Linked DNA regions of Homo sapiens: all the other regions are linked to region 3. The links are contacts of gene promoters, found by promoter capture Hi-C in human tissues and cell types (Jung and others, 2019). All regions are on one chromosome and are shown on one strand. The core of a region is centred on a gene start or on the middle of the fragment in contact, and the rest is flanking DNA. Distances in the headings are between cores, read along the strand shown.

Region 1 (4,710 bases), core at 1,200-3,699, 34 kb after region 3:
AGACAGAACTTACAGCCTTCCTGGGTGCCATGCCTCATTTTCAGTGCATGTAAAAAAACTAGAACCACCCATACCCCCAAATAAGAGAAAAAACAAAGAGGTTTAAAAATAATGCAAATGCAGGGCTTTCGTTTGAATGTGAAATAGCACGCTAGGCTCAATGTCCAGAGGTGGTCACAGGGAACCATCAGCAGAAAGAAGGAACGAACAGGAGAATTTTCAGGAAGATCCTACGATGACCTAGAAAACGGGATATGATTACCTACAGTTCGCTTTTCTGCTTAAAATGGTAGCCAGGAATGCAATTGATTTTGATAATAAACTAGTATCGGGGCTGGGTGCAGTGGCTCATGCCTGTAATCCCAGAACTTTGGGAGGCCAAGGCAGGCAGATCACCTAAGGTCAGGAGTTCAAGACCAGCCTGGCCAACATGGTAAAACCCCATCTCTACTAAAAATACAAAACAAAAATTAGCCGGGCATGGTGGCAGGTGCCTGTAATCCCAGCTACTTGGGAGGCCGAGGCAGGAGAACCACTTGAACCCGGGAGGCGGAGGTTATAGTGAGCTGAGATCGCACCATCGCACTCCAGCCTGGGCAACAAGAGGGAAACTCCGTCTCAAAAACACACACACAAAAAAAACTAGTATCGGCCATTGCACTTATGTACACTATACATGGTGACTATATTTCTATTACAACATACCACAAATGAAAATAAATCATTTAAGCTACAGTCAGGAAACATCCTAAATGTTTGTCCACAGAGACTGTTTAAATTAATTACGTTATATCCATACAATGGACCATTAAGCACCTGTTAAACAGAGTGAGGCAGAGAGGAATAAAAAATACGTCAAAAATATGCTATTAAATTTAAAAAGAGTGGTGGGTCAGGCGCAGCGACTCATGCCTGTAATCCCAGCACTTTGGGAGGCCGAGGCGGGTGGATCATCTGAGGTCAGGAGTTTGAGACCAGCCTGGCCAACATGGTGAAACCCTGACTCTACTAAAAATACAAAAAATTAGCCAGCCATGGTGGCAGGCGCCTGTAATCCCAGTTACTTGGGTGGCTGAGGCAGGAGAATCACTTGAACCTGGCAGAGTTGGAGGTTGCAGTGAGCCGAGGTGGCGCCACTGCACTCCAGCCTGGGCAACAAGAGCGAAACTCTGTTTCAAAAAAATAAATTAATTAATTAAAAAGAGTGTAGAATGATGTATACTGCAAGCTCTCATTTATTTTGGAGAAAAAAGAGGCTGTTTACACTCATTGTTACATTTGTGATGAGAAATGGAAAATTCTTGGAAGGATCCACCAGAAACAGAAGATAGTCACCTGCGAGTTGTGGAACTGGAGGCTGAGTGGGGAGATCTGTTTTGCATTGTACATACATTTATTTGAATGCATTCTTTAATTCATGTGCATGCTATTTTAGTAATAGTAATAGAGTAAAAATACTTTTAGAAAAATATGAACTGTGTGTAATAAAGAAGAGAGAACTTCCACAGAAGACACTCTTCTGTGGACCACACCAGCTCCGGTCATTATTAAACCACAGGTAAGTATCCCTCAGGCACGAGGAAGGCCCAGCTCCCCAACTGACCTCATTTCCATCACTTCCCGCCTGCTTTCTTCATATTTATCTTTCCATTCTGAGACCTCTCTCTCCTTGGTTATGATCTAGTTTCAGAGAGAAGAAGAGAAAGGTTAGCCCCAAATGAGTGAATTCAGCTCTGAGCAATTCATAGATCAAGAAAAGGAGACGGTGAATAAATGTGGAATGAAAACTTCCTACAACAAACCATAATTACATTCAGAGAACTTCCCCGAGCATAAAAAAGAAAGCAGCCAGATATCAGACTTTCACAGTGCCCACTGGGGAGCAACTGAAAGGGGCATGCTTTTTGTTGTAAATTCAACAAGGCCAAAAGGCCCATTACACGATAGCGTCTAGGAAGATCAAAACGCATGGTGTGCCACACATCTTTGCCTGCAGCGTTCAGAGGACAAAGTCTGTCTCCAAAGACTCTGGCTTTGTGGACCACGAGCATACGTATTTATAAGTGGCAGGAAGAGGGTAATTACACCACATGCCACGATACCTCTGCTCTGGCGATCTGGAGGGCAGAGTCCAGGTCGGGCTGCTGGAACAGAAGGCCTGCAGGTTTCTCCACCTCAGCGGTCCCGATGCGGGAGTACAAGGCTGTTTTGGAGATGGAGACGTCTGTTGGGTGAGCAGCCTCTCTCTGTGGAATCGTTTTTAATTAAAAAAAAAACAGTTAGCATTAATCATACGACAAAGAGGATTACACTCACCCTCTCATGAATGGGCCAATTGTATGGTTTTGAAACAAAGAACATCAAAAGTATGAGAAAGTGCAAAGACTGATGAACAGGGAAATGCCGAGTCCAGTCTATGGATGGAGATCTATCATTCTGCACCTGGGCAGGCAGACAAAGGGGCTAATGGCAGAGGCCCCTTAAGCTCCGAGGCCTTGGAGTCCAGCATGTCTGGTACCTGCTTATCTCTGCCATTTATCACTCACTGAGCCACTTAGGCACAGCGCCTGAGAACCCAGGGCACTATTCAGCAGCCTCCACTTCCAAAATGAGATCTCAATGGTGAATAATGTTGAATTCTAGTCTATGTTTTCCTAGTTTTGAATAACCACAGATTTGATCACTTTTGTAAGACTGTTTACATTTCCATTTTGGGGGCATTTGTTTAGCTCTGTTTGAAAGGATGTGAGTCACGCAAAGCTTAAAGCCTACTGTAGTTGTCAACCAATATCACCTTTGGCTAGGTAGAGTCTCTGGATGTAAGAGTTATGTTGGAGTTATGTTAGAGTTATGTAAGAGTTCTGTTGCCATGAAGTCTGTTACGTTAATGGGAAAATTAAAAACTGGGTCAATGACAATATCCACATCTGCTGATTAGACCCTGAACAAGTGGCATGATCCACCACCCCAACCCACCCAACTGATGTTGGTTGAGGCTTTACAGCCTTTTGTGGAGGACAGATACTGGCCTCCCACAGGTGAGGAGGAGGAATCTGTGGTTATTCTTTTTCCCTTTGCACAAAATGCTCGGCAATTTGCAACACAGTTGAAATGCGGTGTTAGCAGCATCACTGACCAGCACAGCCGGGTTGTCAGTCTACTTCTACTGCAAAAGAAACATCAAACCAACCACACTCTCAGTCCTATGCATTAACCTCGTGGCGCTGTCATGGCTGCCCAGCGAACCTCTACCCTAGTTATCAATACTAGAGTGCTCTAACAGGCAGAGTAGGCTGCTTCTTCCCTTGGGAAATTATGAGAAGAAATTGAATGGTGGAAGGCTACCACAGTGTAGTAGAGAGAGAGAGATTTGGGGAAAGAATAATGAGGGCTTATCAAGGACAGCAGGTAAGATTAAAGAGCCAACATTAACTGGGAAGGGGGAGGACCTAAAGGTACCTGTGCAGAATTTGTCTCTTCCACCACCAGAACAGGCGTGCCTACCCTACGACAGCATCAGGGAAAATGAACCCGAGAAGGGAGACAGCTTGGAAAACTCAAGAAGTTTAATGGATAGGACCGGAGATGACTGAGTTAGGACCGGTTAGTTAGCTGTATACATGCAGGGTGAAACTATATAGTTTCGGTTGTCCTGGAAGATTGAACGTCTGTTGCCTGGGTTTCTTGGCCCCTGCCTGGCCTTGCATACTTGGGGTGACCCTGAAGCAGGACCCAAATGATCCACTGGCCAGAGATGGAAGTACACAGTCCCCTTCAAGCAGACCCCAGAGACTCGCTCATGTGAGAACAGGGCAGGCTCAGGCCCTCAAGAAGTCCCCGTTTTAAGGACGCTTGACCAGAATATATACTAATAGCCCTCAGCAGAGGCAGGCTGACCTCCCAGAAGCAAGGGCACCACCAAGCCGCAGGGCCGGAGCCTCACATGCAGGGGTTCATCTCTGCTATTGGAAAATGGGTTTCACAGTTCTGCTTGTCATGGGGGAACTTCTCAGGAAGTAGCTGAAAAATGACACAGAGATCAAGACTCAATATTTGTCCTTATGGAGAAAGTTCATAAACACACAATTCTGAAAAAAATTCTGGGCCGTGTGCGGTGGCTCACTCACACCTGTAATCCCAACACTTTGGGAGGCTGAGGTGGGAGGATCCCTTGAGGCCAGGAGCTTGAGAACAGCCTGGGTAACATTGTGAGATCTCATCTCTAGAAAAATTTTTAATAAAAAAAAATTGGGGGCCGGTTGCAGTGGCTCACACCTGTAATCCAAACACTTTGGGAGGCTGAGGCAGGTGGATCACTTGAGGCCAGGAGTTCAAGACCAGCCTGGCCAACATGGCAAAACCCTGTCTCTACTAAAAATACAAAAACTAGCCAGGTGTGGTGGTGCATGCCTGTAATCCCAGCTACTGGGGAGGCTGAGGCACGAGAATCGCTTGAAACCCAGGAGGCAAAGGTTGCAGTGAGCTGAGATCGCGCCACTGCACTCCAGCCTGGGTGACAGAGTGAGACTCTGTCTTAAAAAAATTTTAAAAAGGCAAAGGATTTTAAAAGGAAAAACAAAAACTATTCACTTTTAAAGTCAACAAATGTGTGTGTTTTTTTTAATGAGCAATAAAATTTCAAAATGAAAACAACATTAGTCACCATCAAACTCAGCGTGGACCTTCTGAAGATGAATAAAATGGAGAATC
Region 2 (4,183 bases), core at 1,224-3,723, 33 kb before region 3:
GGCAGAGCTAGGATTTGAATCTCAGCAGCCTGACACTAGGGCCTGTGTTTTCACCCACCCTCTGTGCCCCGCAAAACAATGATCGTCATTTAATGAGCTCTTACTATGTGCCAGGTGTTCCCAAGATGTTTTCTGTAGATTTTTTCATTTAATTCCACACAACCATCCTGCAAAGTTAGGATATAGTCCTTACTTTTATAGATGTAGAAATTGAGATTAACCCTACATTTATTTAAAATTTTAGTGTTTTGTTCATCATGGCATTTTTTGGCATCAATTTTAATTCTAATATATTACACTAAAATAGACTGCATCTCGATGACTAAGTTTTTTCATGCTCCCTTAAATTTCGCACCAAGGTGCCTCACTCACTTCACCTTAGCTCTGGCCATGATTGAGGGCTGAAACCTGAATAACTTATCCAAGGTCACACAATTCTGGGCTCAGACCTGGGTATAGGGCAGGTTAGAATCTCAGTTCCTCACCAGACTGGCTGTGGAACCTCCTGTGAGTTGCTTAACTGCCCCGCAGCTGCAATGTCCTCATCTGTGAAAGTGTGATCACAGCAGCTGCTCAGAGGAGAGTGGTACAGAGTGGATGAGGTGAGTGGATGAGTTTCCTATCGCTCCAATAACAAATTGTCACAAACCAAGTGGTTCGAAACAACACGAATTTATTTTCTCATCATTCTGGAGGTCAGAAGTACCAAACAAGGTAAGATCAAGTTGTCAGCAGAGCTGTGTTCCTTCTAGAGGCTCAAGGGAGAATTGTTTCCTTGCCTTTTCCAGCACCTAGAAGCCACCCACATTCCTTTGCTTATGGCCCTTTTCTCAGTCTTCAAGTCAGCAGTTCAGCATCTTCAAATCTCTCTATGGTTCTGACTCTTTGGCTTCCCTCTTCACATTTACAAGGTCCTTGTGATCACCATGGGCCCACCCAGGTCATCTAGAATAAGCTCCTCATTTTAAAGCCCGCGGACACTATTCACAATAGCAAAGACATGGAATCAACCTAGGTGCCCATCAGTGGTGGACTGGGTAAAGAAACCATGGTACATATACACCATAAAATACTATACAGCCATGAAAAAGAGTGAAGGCATGTCATTTGCAGCAACATGGGTAGAGCTGGAGGCCATTATCCTAAGCAAATTGACACAGGAATAGAAAACTAAATACTGCATGTTCTCACTTGTCAGTGGGAGCTTAAACATTGAGTACACATGGACACCATTAAGGGAACAATAGACACAGGGCCTACCTGATGGTGGTGGGTAGGAAGAGGGCGAGGATTGAAAAACTATGTATAGGGTTGTACTGTTCTGTTGTTGAATTGCTACAAAGAAATATCTGAGACTGGGTAATTTGTAAAGAAAAGAGGTTTACTTGACTCACAGTTCCATGGGCTGTACAGGAAGCATGATGCTGGCATCTGCTTGGCTTCTGGAGAGGCCTCAGGAAACTTACCATCTTGGCAGAAGGTAAAGGGGGAGGAGGATGTCACACAGCCAGAGCAAGAGCAGGAGAGAGCAAGGCAGGAGGTGCCACACCCTTTGAAATGACCAGATCTCAAGGGAACTCACTCACTATCAGGAGAACAGCACCAAGAGGATGGTGCTAAGCCATTAGTGAGAAATCCACCACCATGATCCAATCACCTCTCACCAGGTCCCATCTCCAACACTGGGGATTACAATTCAATGTGAGATTTGGTGGGGACACACATCTAAACTATATCAAGGATATTATACTGATCACCTGGGTGACAAAATTATCTGTACACCAAATCCCTGTGACATGCAATTTACTCATGTACAACCTGCACATGTACCCCTGAACCTAAAATGAAAGTTGGAAAGAAAGAAAAGAATCAGCTGATTACTGACCTTAGTTCCATCTGCAGCCTTAGTTTCCTTTGCCATACAACCCAACATATTCACAGGTTCCAGCCAGTGAGATGTGGACATCTGTGGGGCCATCATTCTACTGACTGCATACATACAAAGTGCTTAGTACAGTGCCTGGCACATCATGACATGCTCAGCGGATGGAAGCTCTTATGGATATGTGGCAGGGTCAGGTCCTAGCTCCAGAGCCTGTGCAGTACCTGCTGCAGCATGAGGCCTCTCCTCCATAAATGAGCATTGCCAAAGAATAGCTGCTGGCCAGGCGCAGTGGCTCACACCTGTAATCCCAGCACTTTGGGAGGCCGAGGCGGGCAGATCACGAGGTCAGGAGATCAAGACCATCTTGGCTAACATGATGAAACCCCGTCTCTACTAAAAATACAAAAAATTATCCGGGCATGGTGGCAGGCGCCTGAGTCCCAGCTACTCAGGAGGCTGAGGCAGGAGAATGGCGTGAACCTGGGAGGCAGAGCTTGCAGTGAGCAGAGATCACGCCACTGCACTCCAGCCTGGGCGACATAGGGAGACTCTGTCTCAAAAAAAAAAAAAAAAAAAAAAGAATACCTGCTACCCCGTAATGTCAGCTCTGTAAGTGTGGCTATCTCCCAACCCCCTTCTCTAGTAGCCTCTGATGGTTATCTATGGAGCCATTTCAACATTTCTTAAACCCGTTGACATTTTCAGTCTCTGACCATGGACATTGCACCCTGGCCTTAAAATACATCACCGCTTCCACATTCAACCACTCTATGTGGTTATGGTGGGTGGCACCAAAGACAAACCGTGACTCTAAAGGACAATGAAAATGTCACCCACCTCTCATGCTATTTCTGAACAGAGTAAAACTGTCTCTTTCCTCTCCTTTGGTTTTCAGGCCACCTACAAATGCATGGACTTTGACTCTGGCCAGACAGGACCAAGTTTGTCACCATCTGGCAATCATCGTGAGGCCGGAAGGGGAGACTCTCCTCAGAGCACTTGGTATGATGTCCCTGTGAAGAACTTTGTCAGCTGGGCTGGCGAAGTGGTGTGATTTCCAGTGTAGACTCCACACCTGAGGTCCTCAAGCCCAGAAGGCCCTTTGAGGTCTCACTAAAGAGGGGCTAGCAGCAACATGGGGGAGTCCTTGGGAGCTCCACGAATCAGAATCCTGGTTCTATTATTTATGAAGCATAATTATTAAAGTAAATTCCTCTGTCTTTAGGTCAATATCAGACCTGAAAGTATTCGTTTGTGCAACAGATAACCACACCAAAGACATTCACACACCTTTTCATTTACCTAAGAGCTCTGATGGCCTCAATCAAGACAGAACCCACAGGGACTTGAACCTCCCTCTATGGGCTGTACCATGTGTGTTTACTGGCACTCGCTAGCAGCCATTGGAATGTAAATGGTAATTGTTCTTTAGGGGAAAAAAATGCTTTTCATAAGACACTGTCCTCTATTTTTCACTGAGAAAATTATATATAAACAATAAAAGTCCTCTTTCGTATGTAGACCATAGAGAAAGCCATGACCATGTGAGTAAGATATGAACAAGGATGCCCACTGCTCCATCGCTTGTCACAGCAAACAAACAAAACAAAACAAAACAAAAGGCCATTAGGAAGGGAGTGAAAAGAGATCGTTGTGCATTCATTCAATAGAACCCTTTACAATTAAAATTTTAAATGCTCATTAGATATGCAAATATCAACATGGAGAGAACACAACACACGATGTAAGTGAATAAGTTGCAGAACGTTACAATCACGATGAGAACATGTATTTCAAGTTTAAATCTTTTAAAGCAATATTATTCATGTGGTAAGAGTAAAATTACATAGATTAAATCTGCACAAGTTCCTAACAGTGGTTTAATTGTCTTTAGGAGGGGAAGGAGGCAGAAATGAGGAAGGGAATGGGACTGGGAGGGAAACATAGGCGACTTCTGCTTCATTGGAAATGTTTGATTTCTCAATTTAAGACAAAATATTAATATTCGTTCATTTGGGGAGATGAGTACAATTGTGTTTTGTATTATAATTCTACCTTTATACTTTTTTTTCAGAAACTACAAGGAGATATACTTTTTTTAACAGTAAAAATATTAATATTCCTATTGTTCTTGACCATCAATAAGGAAAAAGAAGGCCTCATGCAGAGCACGTCAGTGAGCTGGTAATGACCACAGGCTTTAGGCCACTCAGACGTGGGTTCAAATCCCAACTCTCATGTTGCATGAGGAGACCTTCAGCTGATCCCGTCATTTCCTATCATCTCTATTCCACAGGC
Region 3 (4,192 bases), core at 1,693-4,192:
TGGCCCCTGAGGGCAGACACCTTGACTAATTCTCCCAACAAGAACGTGCACTGGGGACTGGGTAGTTCCCCAGAGCAACATCAGAGAAGAGGAGAAGTGGGTGAGCTGGTGAAACCAGCAGAAGCCACGGCACTTGATGACCAAGAACCTCAGCTGACCTCCCTTTGCTCCCCAAACAGCACTTCACCTGCATCACAGCCATGGCTATGTTCATCCATTCACCAACAAGCATCTCCTGTGCAGTCGCCATATGGAGAGAGGCGTTAGCCGTTTCTGAGAGACAGCAGTGAGCAAAATGCACACGATCCTTGCCTCATAGAATTTCCATTCCACTTGGGCAGACAGGTTTTTCTTTGCCTTTTAATTGCCTTAATTGGACTTTTTAATTGCAAAAGTATTAATAATATATGCTTGTTGTAACTAGTGAACCAATACAATGACAGGAAAGAAAAATTTAACATAGCTGCATAATATCACTTTTTCTTTTTTTGAGACAGGGTCTTGCTCTGTTGCCCAGGCTGGAGTGCAGTGGTGTGATAAAGGCTCACTGCAGCCTCAATCTTCTGGGCTCAAGTGATCCTCCCACTTCAGCCTCCCCAGTAGCTGGGACTACAGGTGTCCGCTACCACACCTGGCTAATTTTTTAATTTTTCTAGAGCCAGGGTTGCCCAGACTGATCTATATTGCCCAGACTGGTCTTGAACTCCTGATATCAAGCAATCCTCCTGCCTTGGCCTCCCAAAGTGCCAGGATTATGGGCATGAGACACTGTTTCTGGCCGCATAATATTTCATACAGTGAATGCATCATTATTTATTAAAATATTCCTCTGCCAAGTCATTGAGGTTATTTCCTATATTTTATTCCCATAATAAAAACAATGGGAACAATATGCATACACATTATTATGGCAGTTTGTGTACATGTGTGTATACATATATCTATACATGTTACCTATATCTGCATCTGTATATATATGTATGTATGTGTGTATATATATATATATATATATATATCTTTGTGTTGCTGTTTTTATTTCTATGAAATAGTCTTCCAAGTGGTATAGTTATGTCAGAGATCTGTATCTTCAATTGAAATAGTTAATACCAATTCACTTGCCCCAAAATTGCAGCAATTAACATTCCTATCACCAATTTATAAGTGTTGTCATTTTTTTCACAACATCTTTAGTACTAGGTAGTATCATCGTATTTATTTTTGCCAAGCTGGTGAGTGTCAGATGGTTTCAGATTCTTACTTTAATTTGAACTTTCCTGGCTACCAGTGGGGTTGAGCATTCTTTTATCTATTTATTGGCTGTTTAATTTTTCTTTTCTGAAAACTGCCTAATCATAGGTTTTCCGCAATTTTCTACTGGGTTACTGTAGTCTCACTAGCATTTTTTAAGGAGCCCTCTATGTACTGGGGACACTAACATTTTGTCTGCCATACATGCTGCAGAAGTGTATCATTTGTCTTTTGACTTTGTTTATGGTAAACAAATTGTTTCATTAGTATGAAAATATGTCCTGTGTGTGTGTGTGTGTGTGTGTGTGTGTATTTCCTTTGCCAGTCTCTAATTTGAAAACATATCTGGGGCCAGGCCCAGTGGCTCATGCCTGTAATCCCAGCACTTTGGGAGGCCAAGGCAGGTGGATCACCTGAGGTCAGGAGTTCAAGACCAGCCTAACCAATATGATGAAACCTTGTCTCTACTAAAAATACAAAATTAGCTGGGTGTGGTGGCGCATGCCTGTAATCCCAGCTACTTGGGAGGCTGAGGCAGGACAGTCACTTGAACTCTGGAGGTGGAGGTTGCAGTGAGCCAAACTCTCACCATTGCACTCCAGCCTGGGAAACAAGAGCGAAACTCTGTCTCGAGGGGAAAGAAAAAAGAAAAAGAAACGTGTCTGGGTACAAACATGGCCCTGGTGTTTGTACCCAGCTGCTGGTGTCTTCATCTGCAATTGCATCCATGTATGCATGTGTGTTAAGAGCATCTTTGGCTGTTCAACCAGCTTTCAGAGGTGCACTTGAGTTTACAGCAATGTGTGTTTTCCTTGATGGCTGAGTTTCCACCTTGCGTGAGGCTTCTCCCACCTCAGGTAACACATACATGCTTTTCTGATCCCTTTACCTCACAGGAGCCAGGATGATGAACTCCTCAGCTTAAAGCCCTTCACCAGCTTCCCACTGCCCTAGACATAGACCCCCAAATCCTCAACGTGGCCTTAAGGAATCTGAGAAGAGAGAAGAGGGTTCCATTCTAAAGCAGACCTGGTCAGCACAGAATAAACCCCACACGGGACTCGCTATGCCCACAGAGCACCGCTTCAGTTACAGAGAGAGGGAGGCTGGGGTTTGCACTCAGCTACCCAAAGCTCCTGCTTTCTTAGATCAATATCTAAGAACTTTTTTAGCTGATCTTGAAATCCAGAGACATCTCAATGGCCTGGAAATGTGTTCTTTTTTCATCCCACCAGGCAATCTGCCCCTTCGTGTGTTTTGAGAGCCTGTGCCAAGGTCCCTGTGGGCGGGCAGGAGCTACCTACAATGGTCTCTCAGCTCCCAGACCCCTCCTGATTCCCTAAACTCCCTCCCTGCCAAGTAGACCAGAGGCACCCAAGTCTAACACTGGGTCTAGACAGGTGCTAAGACAGCACCTGTCACTAGGACACATTTCTTGGTCTCTGAAGTGGCTGAAAAATACCCATTGTACTTACCGTTCCAAAGCCCTTTTGCCCACCACAGGCGTGTTTACAGGGGAAGTGTGCTGAGTGGAGGAACTCCCATCACACTGGCCTCTGAGTTACAGGAGAGCTGGGGGCGCCTTCTGAGCCTGAAGCCTGGAAGCGCTCATCACATCTGGGGCTCCCCCTTTTCTTCTTATGGGCCAAGGTGCTTTGACAGGGGGAGCTTGCCTTGGTTTCCTGGGTGGTTGTGAGCACCACGGCAACGGCAGGGAAGCTTCCAAGCACTTCCTGTTCCAGGGCCAGGTTTCAACTCAGGCTCGGGCTGTGTCCAAGGCCCTGGCTGATGGGGAGAAGCTGTGAGTGATGGCATCTCAGAGACCAGTGTGGGTGCCATGTGCCTCCATTCCTGTTCCTCACAGCACCTGGGGCAACCCAGGGCACAGCCTCAGTGAGAACCAACCCCCAAATCTTCAGGCTTCATCTGTCAAAGGAGAAGATTAGACTAGAAGCTTCTCAGATGCCTCCCAGCTCTGGCATTCTGGGGTGCTCTATTTCTAGCATTTTCTATCTGTGTTTTGACAAACATATTTCAATAAAAATTGAGCATTCCGCATTATTAAAAGCTATGCCTAATGAAGTACTTTGCTGATGATGATTTTTAATGCTGCTCTCTCTGGGAGCTAAGGACTGCCTAAAAGTCAAGGACAAGACCAAGAGCCTTCAAGCTGGCATCCAGAGTGGAAATGTTTGGGATTTGTTTGTTTTGTTTTGCTTTTTTTTTTTCTCTGAGATGGAGTCTCACTCTATCGCCCAGGCTGGAGTGCAGTGGTGTGATCTTGACTCACTGCAACCTCCGCCTCCTAGGTTCACCGGGTTCAAGCAATTCTTGTGCCTCAGCCTCCTGAATAGCTGGGATCACAGGTGCCCGCCACCACACCGGCCTAATTTTTGTATTTTTAGTAGAGACAGGGTTTCACCATATTAGCCAGGCTGGTCTCGAACTCCTGACCTCAGGTGATCTGCCCACCTCGGCCTCCCAAAGTGCTGAGATTACAGGTGTGAGCCACCGCACCTGGCCCTAAGTGCAATCTTACAGTGTCCTCAGCGACGTGGCCTGTGAAGCCCATGACCCAAACTAGGGGATGGGGAGGTGGAGGCCATGTGGGTCAGAGTCACATGGGTCACCACGGGTCCATCAAAGGCCTGGACCACCACCCCAGGGATCACAGAAATCCCTAGTTACAGTAATAGGAACCAGGAGGCAGTACAGCTTTTAAGACCCAAGGCCAGCCTCTCCTAGGCCACATACATCCTAAAGTAAAACGGGAAAGTAGCTGCGCTGCCTCCTGTGGCTGTGATCTAGAAACTACGAAACACTCTATAAATGGGAGGTACCCCTGAATTTGTCTCCCGCCTCAGCCCTCAAATCCTGTGATTCTACTCCTCCCAACACCATATTCTGCTTTGCACAGAAGCCGATCGCTGTGGAATGTTCTGTG

Evidence for each region. Contacts are between HindIII fragments. The study calls those that stand out against the background at their distance.
Region 1: a fragment that was not itself captured here is called in contact with the fragment with the promoter of BTBD16 in region 3 in 7 of the 25 tissues and cell types used here (IMR-90 fibroblasts, aorta, hippocampus and 4 more).
Region 2: a fragment that was not itself captured here is called in contact with the fragment with the promoter of BTBD16 in region 3 in 1 of the 25 tissues and cell types used here (spleen).

What each region holds. Positions count from the first base shown.
Region 1 is chr10:122,234,931-122,239,640 of GRCh38, reverse strand. TACC2 (transforming acidic coiled-coil containing protein 2) reads right to left here. Exons shown (of 23, transcript NM_206862.4): 17 at 2,103-2,246; 18 at 1,604-1,680. Among named protein-coding and RNA genes, the nearest start is that of BTBD16, 34 kb to the left of the region's middle. The HindIII fragment of the contact is 8,813 bases long and covers 1-4,710 here.
Region 2 is chr10:122,302,832-122,307,014 of GRCh38, reverse strand. The region is part of intron 9 of BTBD16 (BTB domain containing 16); the gene reads right to left. Among named protein-coding and RNA genes, the nearest start is that of BTBD16, 34 kb to the right of the region's middle. The HindIII fragment of the contact is 8,257 bases long and covers 1-4,183 here.
Region 3 is chr10:122,270,046-122,274,237 of GRCh38, reverse strand. BTBD16 (BTB domain containing 16) reads right to left here and starts at 2,942. Exons shown (of 16, transcript NM_144587.5): 1 at 2,724-2,942. The HindIII fragment of the contact is 10,681 bases long and covers 1-4,192 here.